2 separate regions of the Homo sapiens genome follow, and region 2 is linked to region 1. The links are contacts of gene promoters, found by promoter capture Hi-C in blood cells and fetal thymus (Javierre and others, 2016). All regions are on one chromosome and are shown on one strand. The core of a region is centred on a gene start or on the middle of the fragment in contact, and the rest is flanking DNA. Distances in the headings are between cores, read along the strand shown.

Region 1 (6,310 bases), core at 2,203-4,702:
AGAGACGGGCCTGGCTCTGTCCTCCAGGTTGGAGTACAATGGCACAATCACAGTTCACTACAGCCTTGGACTCCTGGGCTCAAGTGATCCTCCTGTCTTAGCCTCCCAAGAAGCTAGAAGCACAGATGCACAACATCATGCTCAGTTATTATTATTTTTTTGTAGAGACGGGCTCTCACTATGTTGTTCAGGCTGGTCTCAAACTCCTGGGCTCAAGTGATCCTCCCCATTCAGCCTCCCAAAGTGCTGAGATTACCAGCATGAACCACTGTGCCTGTCCCTCATCATAGTTATTTCTATTTGAAATAATATTTTTCAGTTAGTTACTGGTTTATTTGTTTACCTGCTCCCCCCAAATCCATAATAGTAGGACCTTGTGATCTGGGTAACATTATATCCCCCAGTGCTTAGAAAGGTACCTAGCACATGGTAGACACTCAATAAATATTTGTGGAATAAATACCTGGGGGAATAAGGTCCCTGAAGGTAGCAAGATCCCCATCAGTGGAGGCATTTAAACATGGTTTGCACAACCACTTGCCAGGGCCATCGAAAACTATGGGCAGAGGCTTAGTCACAAGAATAAAAGACTGCATAGGTCCCTTCTAGTCCTATGTACCTACGATTATATGGCCACCACACCTTTTTTGCTATGCAATGGGAAAAGCAAAGGAGTATTCCTCAGTCATTTTGTACCAAATGATAGTATGCATACTCCTGTTCCTGCTGCAATATCATCTTGGCATTAAAATGTTGAAGCTAATCAGACATTTAATTTCAAAGTGGAAGGTCATTATCTTGTCACAAAATTTTATTCCAATTACTTTTTTTTCTATTATACGAAATGAATTAAAAGTAGCACAAAACATTGGGAGATCAAACAGTCAATCAGAAGCTCATTAAATATCATTGAAATTGGTGCAATAAAAAGCATTTCCCATGGCTGAGCTATTATTTAAAAGCTATATTCTGGATGGCTCAAGGAATTGACATGCTGCCAATCAAAAAATCACCCTGTCCATAAATAGCCACTTGGCTTTTCAAAATTCACTCTCACTCTCTCTCTCTCTTTTTTTTTTTTTTGAGATAAGAGTAAATATCTAAAAAGATTTAAAGCATGGGTATAATTACTATTCTATCAGCTCCTATGAGACCCCTAAGAGAAGATATCAGCAAAGTCACTATCTGATAATTTAGGCCACAATTTAGAGCAAGATGCTCACAGAGTGCTACCAGTAATTTTATGAACACTTAAATACATTACATCTATGTACAATACTCAGTTAAATACAATCTCAGGCAGGGGTTAGTGGTCAGCTATAATTTTAAAATTGCCTTCAACTCCACACTTAGAGTAAATGCTCATTTTATTTTTAAAAGGGTGATTCTTAAGTACTTCACTTTTCTATGAACTCAGGACGCAGACATAGGTGACTGCCCACATGAAAATCTGAAAGCTGATCATTTAAAACTTTTAAATATTTTTCCTCTGGGCACCTTCCCCTCCCCCTTCCCCCCACTTTTAAAAGCTAAATGACTAATTTGATTATTTCAGTTTTATAGAAATAATCACTTTTTGATGTAAAGGACAGCATGTCCTTTTCAATAGAAAATATACAATAGAAGTATTGTTCCCAGTCTCTTAAGGTGTTTAAGTGGTGAGGAGGATATACATTTAAAACTACATAGAAGAGGAAGCCCCCAGGTACAGGAAATTACTTCTTCAGAAGAACTAAAAGATTTCTCTCCTCTTAACTCCCCACACTGCCACCACCCCAATTTCTTTTCAAAAGCCAGGACTTATTGGCAAATTATCTGGGAGTAAAGTGGGAGGAAAACATTTCAATGCAAAATTCAGAACTGCTTTATAGAAAGGAAAGTGTGGGGAGGTTTGTTATCATTTATTTCCTCCAGTATATCATTCAATTTCAGCTGTCTCACGTCTCAGAAGTAGCTCCCCCATTTCTCACTTACGTGCCTAAGAAACATCTCCCTGGCATCTCATTCTCTTTCTCTTTCACCAGCATTTCATTATTTCTTAACTGTCCCTCTCATGCTTGTCTCCTTTTCCTAGTGATCCACGTGTCCTCATTTAGCAGTTTTCAGAAGCCAGGGAGAAACATTGCAAATAATGTTAAATATGATTAATATCTTGAATTCCTTGAAATATGACATGCATGAGTTACAATGAAACCTCTTTTATTTCCCCATGAAATGCTTTTGCATAATGAGAAAGAAAATGTCCTCTATGCCCTAATCAGCCCTGACAGTTCCTGGACTCCCAAATACTTATATTTATGGCATTATTTATTTCATCTCTAATAAATGGATTGGGGGGGGGACACAGCACCATCTGAGGAAGCTGCAGGAGAGAGGGAGACAATCTAGGGGGGAATAATACAGAAGCTGAACCAGCAAGGCAGAGAGAAAAAGCTTCCAAAGGGAAGGAGACCAGGGAAAGAGAGGCCAAAAGATGTGAACCCCCAGAAGAAAATGGGTCACCTTCCTAAGAATAAAAGGAAGGCTCTGAAAAGGAAACAAACTTCAGAGTGCAGAGATGAGGGTCCTACATCAAGGAGCATCCAGAACTCTGACCTGGAGAACGAAAAAGGAAGGCTGAAAAGCAAACCTGGGGCAGGGTATGCTGGTTGGCCTAGAAGAGGGGTGATTTGGGATAGGGAGCAATGGACCCTCTGCCCCAAAAAGTGGCTGGGAGAGACCAGGACATCTGCATCCCATGGAGGATCTTCCTCCCAACGACTGAGATCTCTCATTCAAACGGCTACTGAAATTGGGCACCCTCCAGACCCTCGCCGGATGGCGCCAGTTGCAGTGAGTAAAACAATGCAAGGAGTGAGTTCTCGTGTTTCCCTGGGCTTGCAAGTACATATACATATATTAAAAATGACACTGTTGAAAGTAATCATCACCTCAAAGGGAGGTATCAGGACATTTCCCCACTCAATTGCACAGAGGCTACTGGCTATGGGAAGTGAGGAGTTGACTTCAAATAACCTGGATGCGTCAGTGCAACACAGCCGCACACTCCCGAGTGTCTGACTTTGGGCAATTCCCTTCAACCTCTCAGAGCCTCGGTTTTCTCATCTTTATAATGGGGGGGAAATCATGGTGTCATGCACGTTCTCGGGGCCCCTACGGGAAACAAATGAAAACGTGAAAAAGTTCTACGCCTTGCGAGCTTTTATGTTCCGCATGAGCTCAGAGGCCGCGATGCTCGGGGAAAGCAGGACCCCAAAGCCCCGTAAACACCGCGCGACCACCCGGGCCAAGATCTTCAAGAGGTTCTTTTCAGAAGGATCGGAGAGCAATTCCCGATTGGTAGAAGAACTTGCTGTAATACACACGTACTCTGACGACCCCGCCCCAACGACTAGCCCCTCCTCTGTGCAACCCCGAGAGTTTGGGGTCATGCAGGGGGCGCCACGAGCTCGTTTCGGAAGCCGGACCCCGCCCGCAGCCGCAGAAGCCTCGAGTCCACATCTGGGTCTCTAAAGTCTCGCCGTAGCCAGATCCCGGATCCCCACCTTCTTCACCAGTTCCCGGGCGTCCTCCAGGTCCTCGCTTTCCCCCTTCCCCCGCTCCCCGTCGGAGGCGCGGAGCCGCCAGGCAGACCCCGCGGGCGGCTGCGGCGCCAGGCCCCGCCCCGCCCCCATTATCATTAGCAGATATTACCCTAAACACTTGCTCTTTACCTCCTTTCTCCCTCCAGGCATTGGCGAGGCAGCCTGTCAATCAGGAGCTCGGGCGGCAGCCCCCCGCGCGGGGGCTCGGCGATGCCAGCCTCAGCGACAGGCGGCGGCGGCGGCGGCCACGGCACAGACACACACCCTCCCACACGCGCGCACCAGGGCAGACCCGGCGGGCAGGCGGCGGAGGCACCCTCGGAGCCCGGCGCCCGGCGGGGAGGGGACGTGCTCCGAGGGACCGGCCCCGAGGCGCCGGATGGAGGAAGAGATGCAGCCGGCAGAGGAGGGGCCCAGCGTCCCCAAAATCTACAAGCAGCGCAGCCCCTACAGCGTCCTCAAGACGTTCCCCAGCAAGAGACCGGCGCTGGCCAAGCGCTACGAGCGACCCACCCTGGTGGAGCTGCCGCACGTGCGGGCGCCCCCGCCGCCCCCGCCGCCCTTCGCGCCGCACGCCGCCGTCTCCATCAGCAGCAGCGAGCCGCCGCCGCAGCAGTTCCAGGCGCAGAGCTCCTACCCCCCCGGGCCCGGCCGGGCCGCCGCCGCCGCTTCGTCGTCGTCGCCGTCCTGCACGCCCGCCACATCCCAGGGCCACTTGAGGACTCCGGCGCAGCCGCCGCCCGCGTCCCCCGCCGCCTCCTCGTCGTCTTCGTTCGCCGCTGTCGTCAGGTATGGCCCAGGCGCGGCGGCGGCCGCCGGCACCGGCGGCACGGGTAGCGACAGCGCCAGCCTGGAGCTCAGCGCAGGTACCAACTCTCCGCACAACTTTCCTTCCCGCCACGGCCGGGGGCAGCGGGAGGGGACCCAGGAAGGAGAAGCGGGGGGCCGCCGACACTTACCCGTGCTGGGCCGTGTCGGGATGTCGGGGCGCACCTGGGGCCTCCCCGCGCACCCGGAAACTTCGAGAGGATTCTCCAGCGCCGCCGCGCCTGGGCTTCCGACGGCGCGCGCCTAACAGGTGGCTCCGCGGCTTGGATCCCGCGCCGGGAAGCACGGCTGTGGCAGTCGGCGACCAGGATCGCTCGGGCGTGGTCCGGAGTGGGGCCAGACGCCCCCCCGGGGGATAGCGGCGGCCGCTCGGGAAGAAGCTGGAGCTTCTCGGGCCGCCCCGCTGGGACGCCCTCGTACTACTTCACTTTTTCCGTCTGCTTTTTCCCTTTCTCCTTCTTCCTCCATTTGTTTCTTCTTCTCTCCACTTCTCCTTTGCCTTCTAGTGCTTTCTTCGCCACCTCTTTGATGCACTCTCACGCTGTCGCAGTCCATGCTGGCTGGCTCTCAGTTCCGTTTTTCCTTCTGTCTTTTTTTGTGCGCCTGTGTTTCTCGGGGGCGCTCTGTCTCGCTCTGTCCCTTTTCCTTCCCACCCCTTGGTTGTGAGACTCGGGGCTCCTCCGCGTCCGCCACGCCGTGGATTTCGGGCGCGGGGAACCATCCCGCCCCTCCTTCCTGCCCCGGGAGTCGCAGGCACTCTGCTCCCACCGCCCACGTCGTCGTCCCCGCCATCCCCTCGTCCCCGTCCGTGGCACGCTGCCGCGCCGCGGGGTCCTGCCCCTCCCGAGCATCTCGGCCCGAGCCTTACAGAAACGCCTCGTGGGAGGCACCCACTCTGGGGTCCGCGACTCCTCTCCTTTATCTCGAGTCTGCGGGCGCTGCCCGGCAAAGCAGCCCACTGCCTGCCTGCAGGGAGCGAGATGGGCTGGTTGCGAGGCCACAGCCTGAGGCCTGCGCCCAAGGGACCTCTCCACCAGCTCCCAGTGGGTGCAGCCACGTTTATCCACTCATTAGAACTAAAAGTTCCTGCCAAGGCCTTTTATGGCACTTTGAAGCCCCCCAAATCCTGCATGTCAGTGAATCTTGAGACTTATTTTTTTCTCCTGTGGAAAATAGAAGTGTTGTGTCTAAATGAGTTATAGATGCCTCCAGTAATAATTCTGTTGTTTGTCAATATTTTGACACATGAAGGATTGGTTTTGGAAAAGAAAACCTAATTACAGGTTATAGTGAAGACTTGATCTGTTGCATCTCTCACTGATTTGAAGATGTTTGATTGCTTTCAGTGGGGTTCTTAGGTGGACTTCCTTATTGTTTGTGGGGTATGTTTTTTTTCAGTTGCTCTTGCCCCAATATTCCATTGTGTTTTTATATTCTTTGTTAGGCAGTTGGCTCACTTGATTTTCCTCCTTACTTTTTTTCTTTTTCCCCCCTTCTTAAGGAGGTTCATTTTCTTTCTTTCTGGCTTGAGATCTTATTTTCTCCTAAACTACTTCTTGTTCAGGCATGTGTTTATTTCTAGGCTCAGCTTTATCATCCTGTATTTTTATGTTCTTTGCCAGCAATTTGGGTCCTTTTCCCATTTTCTGTGTTTTGCTTTTACTCTTTTGCGTAGCCTCAGTTCCATCATTTTCATTGACGTTTTCCCCTCTATCTGCCCAGGTCAGTCTTTGATCTCCTCTTGCTTCTCCTTCCAGCCTTTGTTGATTGTCTTTCCATATTTTACTTCCTGTTATACACTGTAAATTTACCCCCTTCTCATTTCCATTTTCATCCATAGTTTTAGCCGGCTATATATTTCCTGTATTGCTTCTTTTTTTCTGCACCAGTCACTTGCT
Region 2 (6,870 bases), core at 3,247-5,746, 200 kb after region 1:
CGGTGATGTAGGCACTTAGCATGAAAAGAAAAAACTGGATAGACCTTGATCTGAATGGTGTCACTCCAAATTGTGGCCTATTTTACTGTTTTCCTAGAAAGCACATATTGACAGGGTACTTCTTTTGAATAATTCAGTATTTTAAAAATGCAAGCCAGGCACAGTGGCTCACGCCTGTAATCCAGCACTTTGGAAGGCCGAGGTGGGGGGATCACGAGGTCAGGAGTTCAAGACCAGCCTGGCCAACATGGTGAAACCTCATCTCTACTAAAAATACAAAAACTAGCTGGGCATGGTGGCGGGCACCTGTAACCCCAGCTACTTGGAGGGCTGAAGGAGAATTGCTTGAATCCGGGAGGCAGAGGTTGCAGTGAGCTGAGATGGCGCCATTGCACTCCAGCCTGGCCAACAAGAGTGAAACTCCGTCTCAAAAACAAACAAGCAAACAAACAAAAAATGCTTAATTTTTTTTTTCAATCTTGAATGATTACATATTTAAAAGGGCCATGGAATTCAGGGACTTAGTTTTATAGCTGACTCAGCACTTTTGGTGGCATTTAACCTTCAAACACATCATGTGAAAATGGGGGGCTACCTGAGGAAAGAGTGCCACCTACTGATTATAAACATAACTGTCCGTGGCTACTTCTTCCTTGAAGTTTTCATTTCAAAGTGTCAAAATTAGTCTAATTTGTGTGACAGCTTTGAGACTGTCAGATTCTAAGGAGATTAAGGAAGGAAGAGGTGGTGGTCAGAATAACCTATGTTAATCAAAATAAACTCCTTAGCATTAGTTAAGGTTCTTTACCTCAATCTCTCAAAATTAATGTTATTCTGAACTAAAACTTAAAAAAAAAAAAAACTAAATCTCTCAGTTCTACTTGTCTTATTACACATATACTCATCTTCTTTTCCAGAAAAAAATAATATTCATGTCCTAAACTTAGAAACCTAACCTGAAGTTTTGATCTGGATTTTTAGGAAGAAGGAAGTATTGATGGTTTCATCATTCTTAGCTCTATAAAAGAACCTATTAATTTTTCATAACTTTTAGCTTAGTATTATAGTTGGCCTTTTCTCTGTAAGGGACATTCTTAAATATTCAAGTCTAATTTTCTTTAAAAAGTTCGCTTGCTTTCTTTCTTCCAGGAGGATCTACCTCTGAACTTCATTCCAAAAAAAAAAAAAAAAACCTAAATACAAATTGCATAATAAATTTCTCTTTAGATTGATATTAGAGTTTAAATTAGTAAGGTACCAACTATACAAAAGGACAGAGAATCCTTGCTAAAATAAAGTAGATTTTGTATAAGGCTTCCATCTATCCAAAAAGGTTTAATATTTAAAAATGCCAGAAGAACAATGGTACTACACCACTTCCAGAAGAATTAGACACACTGGATGTTAAATGAACTTCTTTTAAACCTGTAACTAACAATAAGTTCAATGATGCAGTAAAGAGTTAATTTCTGTTACTACATTCATTCTATATATTGCTATTGTATTTCCTTAATTTTAATTTGATAGGTATACATGTAACACTATAATTTCAAATTCCAAATCAGCCGGTTGTAGATATTCCTATTGCAGAATTTCTAACTATGAGTTCATGCAAACTAAACATCTAGTAATGCTCAAATTGTAAAATTTACTTTTTCGTAAGTTTAAGATTACCTTTTTTTGTATATTAAACCTTCCTTTAAGAAACAAATCTGTTTCAACTTGTCAAACATGAGTATATCAGAAATATTATAATTCTGCTAAAATGACATAAAACCTCAATTTAAAGCACAGAGTGTTATTTTATACTGTAATATTTTTAATGTTAAAATGCTTTTTGTTAAAACCAACATGGATTATTGACCAATTATCTTGACCAACAGTACTTTTCAAAATAAACAGGAAAAACTCAAAACAGAGACACACAGATCTTTAAAAGACAATCATGATTTTAAAAAAATCATGGATCATGGTATAAACAGAGCACACAAAAGGAAAATAAGAAATGAAAAAAAAACTGTTGAAATTCAAATAAGTTTTATACTTCAGTTAGTAGTATTGTTCTGGGCTAATATCTTACTTTAGATAAATGTTCTACAGTTATGTAAAACGTTAACATGAGAGGACCTGAGTAAAGGGTATGCAAAAGAACTCTTCTTGGCAGGGCGCGGTGGCTCACACCTGTAATCCCGGCACTTTGGGAGGCCGAGGCAGGCAGATCACGAGGTCAGGAGATCGAGACCATCCTGGCCAACATGGTGAAACCCTGTCTCTACTAAAAATACTAAAATTTTGTATTTTTACAATACAGCTGGGACTACAGGCGTGGTGGCGTGCACCTGTAGTCCCAGCTACTCGGGAGGCTGAGGCAGGAGAAGCACTTGAACCCAGGAGGCAGAGGCTACAGTGAGCCAGGATTGCGCCACTGCACTCCAGCCTTGGCGACAGAGACAGACTCTGTCTCAAAAAACAAAAACAACAACAAAAAAACTCTCTTGTACATTTCTGACTCTTCTATAAATCTAAAAGATCTTTTTAAATTATAGGAAAAAACTAACAGCTTCAAAATAAACATGACTTCAGCTGCCAAAATTTCTTGATATAATTCAAGACTTCATTTTTTAAAACATAATTAGAAATCAACATTATGTTTACTTAACATTATAGTCATTTTATTGCTCTAGAAAGTTTAGTTTCTAAAACCATTGGATTACTTACATAGTGACAATAAGACTAGCCACATACACAAAATCAACTGTATGAGGCTGCTTCTCCAGCTTAGTGGACAAATATTACAAAAATACAAAAATAGCTGATTATAGTTAAGCTATCAAGTATAATTTTTCATGTATTTATCCTAAGAATATCCCCTTTTTATAGATAAGGAGATGAACAAAAATAAAACTAATGTTACTGATAAATTACTAATGAATGTATTTGAGAAATCCAAATTACATGCAGACAGAAACTGGTCACAAAAACCATTACATTTCTCTATACTAAAACTGTACAATGTTTTAAACATTTCCAATCATGCAACGGTAATGAAGATCAGCATGAATTTTATAAGAGTTGATGGGAGTTCAATGAACAGGATTTAACACATTTTACAACCCAAATCAAAGTTGAATAATACATCCAATTCCCCTAAATTTATCTATGCGTTGAGACTGAAATGCACATTATTCCCCCACAACTCCTCCCCCTACCCCATTCCCAATCAATTACCTTACCTATAAAACCTTCCATTTAACCTTTTAAGTCAGATTTGATGGGTAAACATGTAATCTACAGTATACTCTCCATTATTATTTCAGGATAGACACACATATAGTCAGATGCTGAATCTTCATTACATTCCTTTCAAAAGGCATCTAAACTGTTGCAATTGTCTATGAAAATTCAAGCCTAAGAAACCAAGAAAACTGGCAGTCAAGATTCTGAACTAGGTAGTTCTACAAACTATAATACGAATAATCTATATGTCCACATTAGTAAAAGAAGGATTTCCTGTTTGAGAAATGTTTCTCAATGGCTCTTTGAAGGGAAAGCTGTGTCACTACTGCTTTCTGCTTTCAATGGCTAGGTGACCCCAAATATTTATCCAACTGGCTAAGAGGCTTACAGTTGAGCCTTTTAAAAAATACTCAAGGCCACAGAAGTACTTACGGAAATAAAATTTTAGAAGATCATAGTTTAAGATACATAGAATTCTTCTTATAATGGTACATTCAAAACACATCTGTCCTAACAAAGCAGCATAAAACCAATTAAAAAAACAATTTGAAATTAAATACACTGAGAAGTGTTAAAATCATTAACCAAAATTACTGAATGGTAGAATACTGTCTCAAAATGTACTGAATTCACATATGTGTATCACCATAATGAATTCATGCCAGATATAAACTCAGGTTACCAATTAGGTTGAAACAAATTTTAGAGCTATTTTTTTTACATGAGAAATTAATGTACTTCATGATATAGGCACAACAGCATCTTTTTAAAAAAACTGGTATATTTATCACTAGATACAGACTTCTTTAACCATTAGCAACACAGCGCAGTAAAATTTTCTCAAAACTTTTTAAGCTTGATTTAACATGCCAAGAAAATGATTATTTTTCCACCGAGATGCATTTATGTAAATTATGTAAATTGGATTGAGGTCAGTGTAACACCTGGAATTTACAACCCCTAGCAGAAGTACCAGCTGCTAATAATGCTTATACTATATTTGTAGCTTAACTAGATGTTAAACTATGGAACTGTTGGTGCCAATCTGCTTATAAAGGCAATGCTCTGGAGACAAAGTCTTCTCACAAACAGTGGGCAAGCAGGTTTCATTATTATGTGTTCAACAACAATCCTCAGTTCATTAAATAAGGTCCTGCAAGACAAAATAGTTTTCTTTGAGAAACACAAGGAAAAAGCAATACACAGGCTTACCTCATTTTATTGTACTCCATAGATATTTCATTTTTTACAAATTGAAGGTTTGTTGCAACACCGCATACAGCAAGACTATCAGTGCCACTTTCCAACAGCATGTGCTCACTTCATGTCTCTGCGTCACACTTTGCCAATTCTTCCACTATTTCAAATGTTTTCATTATTAATCTATTATGGTGATCTGTGATCTGTTCTGTTACGGTGATCTCTTTGGTGTTACTATTGTAACTGTTTTGGGGCACCACAAACTGCACAAATATAAGATGAAGCAGTTCATGAAGGCCATTCCTGATTGGTCTCTTTCCCTCTCCTCAGACCTACCTATTCTTTGAGACACAATACTGAAATTAGGCCAATTAATAACCCTGTAATGGCCTCTAAGTGCTCAGGTGAAAGGAGGCCTCCCATGTCTGTTACTTTAGATGAAAACTAGAAATGATTAAGCTTAGTGAAAAAAGCATGGCTAAAGCTAAGACAGGCCAAAAGCTAGACCTCTTGTGCCAAATAGCCAAGCTGTGAATGCAAAGGAAAAGTTCCTGAAGAAAATTAAAAGCCCATTTCTGTGAACGGATGAATGATAAGAAAGCAGAACAGCCTTACTGCTGATGGTAATGCTATTGCGCACTTAGCAGACTACAGTAGAGTGTAAACATAACTTCTGTATGCACTGGAAAACCAAAAAATTCATCTGACAGCTTTGTGATATTCACTTTATTGTGGTAGTCTGGAACCACTCCCACAACATTTCTGAAGTATGCCTCTAATGCTAAACAAATACTCATGAAGGAATCTACCATAGCCATTAGAATTTGAAGTAAAAGAATAACTAGAATGCATTGTAGAGAAAACACAAAATACAATGAAATTCTCAAACAACACCTACATCTTTTATGGGTGGAAACACTCATTTAACAAAGGTATTTAATAAATGGCTATCTCTAAAACCTCAGATTAAATTTTAAAAATTATATATATATATTTTAGAGTCACATCATTTTCACATTTAACTTAGGCAATTTCAACTAGTTTTTTAAAACAGAACAAGAAAAAATATACTACATGGACAGTGTTTTTTATATATTTTAAAATATATAACATGGACAGTTATATTTATTCACCCACTATTTCCTTAAATGTACATATTGTCCCTCAGAGATTTCCTCTTCTGTAAAATAATTCTGAGTTGTGGTGAAATTTAAATGCAATATGGAAGATGCTCAATAAATGTTACTTCCCAGTTGGATCAATACACTGAACTATGACTCTTTTATGCCTTCCGACTAAAGCCCAAGTACTCGGTGTCACACCCAATACCCTCCACAATCTAGTCTCAATCTAATTTTCTGCCCCATCTCCTGCCACTCCCTGCCCTCGCTCCTATCATCAACTTATGTTGCATGTTTGTGCCCAAAACCATGTGGGCTTTGCCTATGTCTTAACTGTGCTCACTGCCTACAAAGTATTATTACATACTGTAGATATCACATATATTATACAGGCTAGTATACACAAAATCATGTATACTGTACTGACATTTATAAGTGATATGAAGGATCATCAAGGGTAATTTTAACCATTCACAATTTTCACCTTATGTGCTGACTCATCCTGTATAAAGATGCAACTACTATTCTACCTTTTTGTGTCCTGTTTTACTTCTATGGTTAGAAAAAAAGCAACAAATCTACTTTTCTAAACAAGTATTTAATATGCTTGCACAGAAAGACAGGAATAATAATATTTGGAGTAATGCATAATTTTCCAAAACCTGCCCTTCCTGTATCTCCTGTCTTCGTGAGAGCACCATTACAACTCTTAGGCTTCCAAGCCAGAAACCTGTGGGTCTTTAATTTACTCTTTTCTCTCAAGCCCTAATATCCTATCTCCTAATACCTTTCATATTTGTCCCCTTTTCCTTTTACCACTGGATTAATTCAGGCTCTAGACTACTCTAATAGTCTCCAAATTGATATTTTTCTTCTCTTGCTGAGCTTGCAATCCATTTTCTGGAATATTTCTAAATCAGATTTCATCATGGGGGTTCCCAGCCTCTCTATGTTACAATCTTCAAAGGCTCTCCTTACCTCAAAATAAAATCCAAACCCTTTCATGATCTAGTCCTTTCTACCATCTACCTTTGTGGACACAGATATTTATCAATTCTCTATATACTTCCTGAGCTCAAGTATGCTAAGCACTTTTCAGGCACCCATGTGTCAGAACTCAGGCTCATTCTTTAAAAGACTTGGCTTATGTTCCCACCTCCTCAGTGAATTCTTATTTGTCTCTGTCTGTTCTCTATGCTTTCAGAGCACCTTCATCATCACACTGACTTACATAGCTGTCTAATTTATTCAGCAGTGAGTACCTCTGAAAGAAGATATTTTAATTCCACATAAGTTCATCAACATACAATCA

What was found. The method cuts DNA at HindIII sites, captures the fragments that hold promoters and counts their contacts. A CHiCAGO score of 5 or more calls a contact.
Region 2: a fragment that was not itself captured here is called in contact with the fragment with the promoter of BEND4 in region 1 in 3 of 17 cell types (megakaryocytes, naive B cells and total B cells); the score reaches 8.2 in megakaryocytes.

What each region holds. Positions count from the first base shown.
Region 1 is chr4:42,149,797-42,156,106 of GRCh38, reverse strand. It overlaps BEND4 (BEN domain containing 4), which reads left to right and starts at 3,452. Exons shown (of 6, transcript NM_207406.4): 1 at 3,452-3,575; 2 at 3,731-4,450. The coding sequence starts at 3,964. RefSeq lists silencers at 3,760-4,079, 4,280-4,369 and an enhancer at 4,135-4,978. The HindIII fragment of the contact is 4,164 bases long and covers 2,436-6,310 here.
Region 2 is chr4:41,951,590-41,958,459 of GRCh38, reverse strand. It overlaps TMEM33 (transmembrane protein 33), which reads right to left. Exons shown (of 7, transcript NM_018126.3): 7 at 1-4,390. The coding sequence ends at 4,261. Among named protein-coding and RNA genes, the nearest start is that of TMEM33, 20 kb to the right of the region's middle. The HindIII fragment of the contact is 804 bases long and covers 4,095-4,898 here.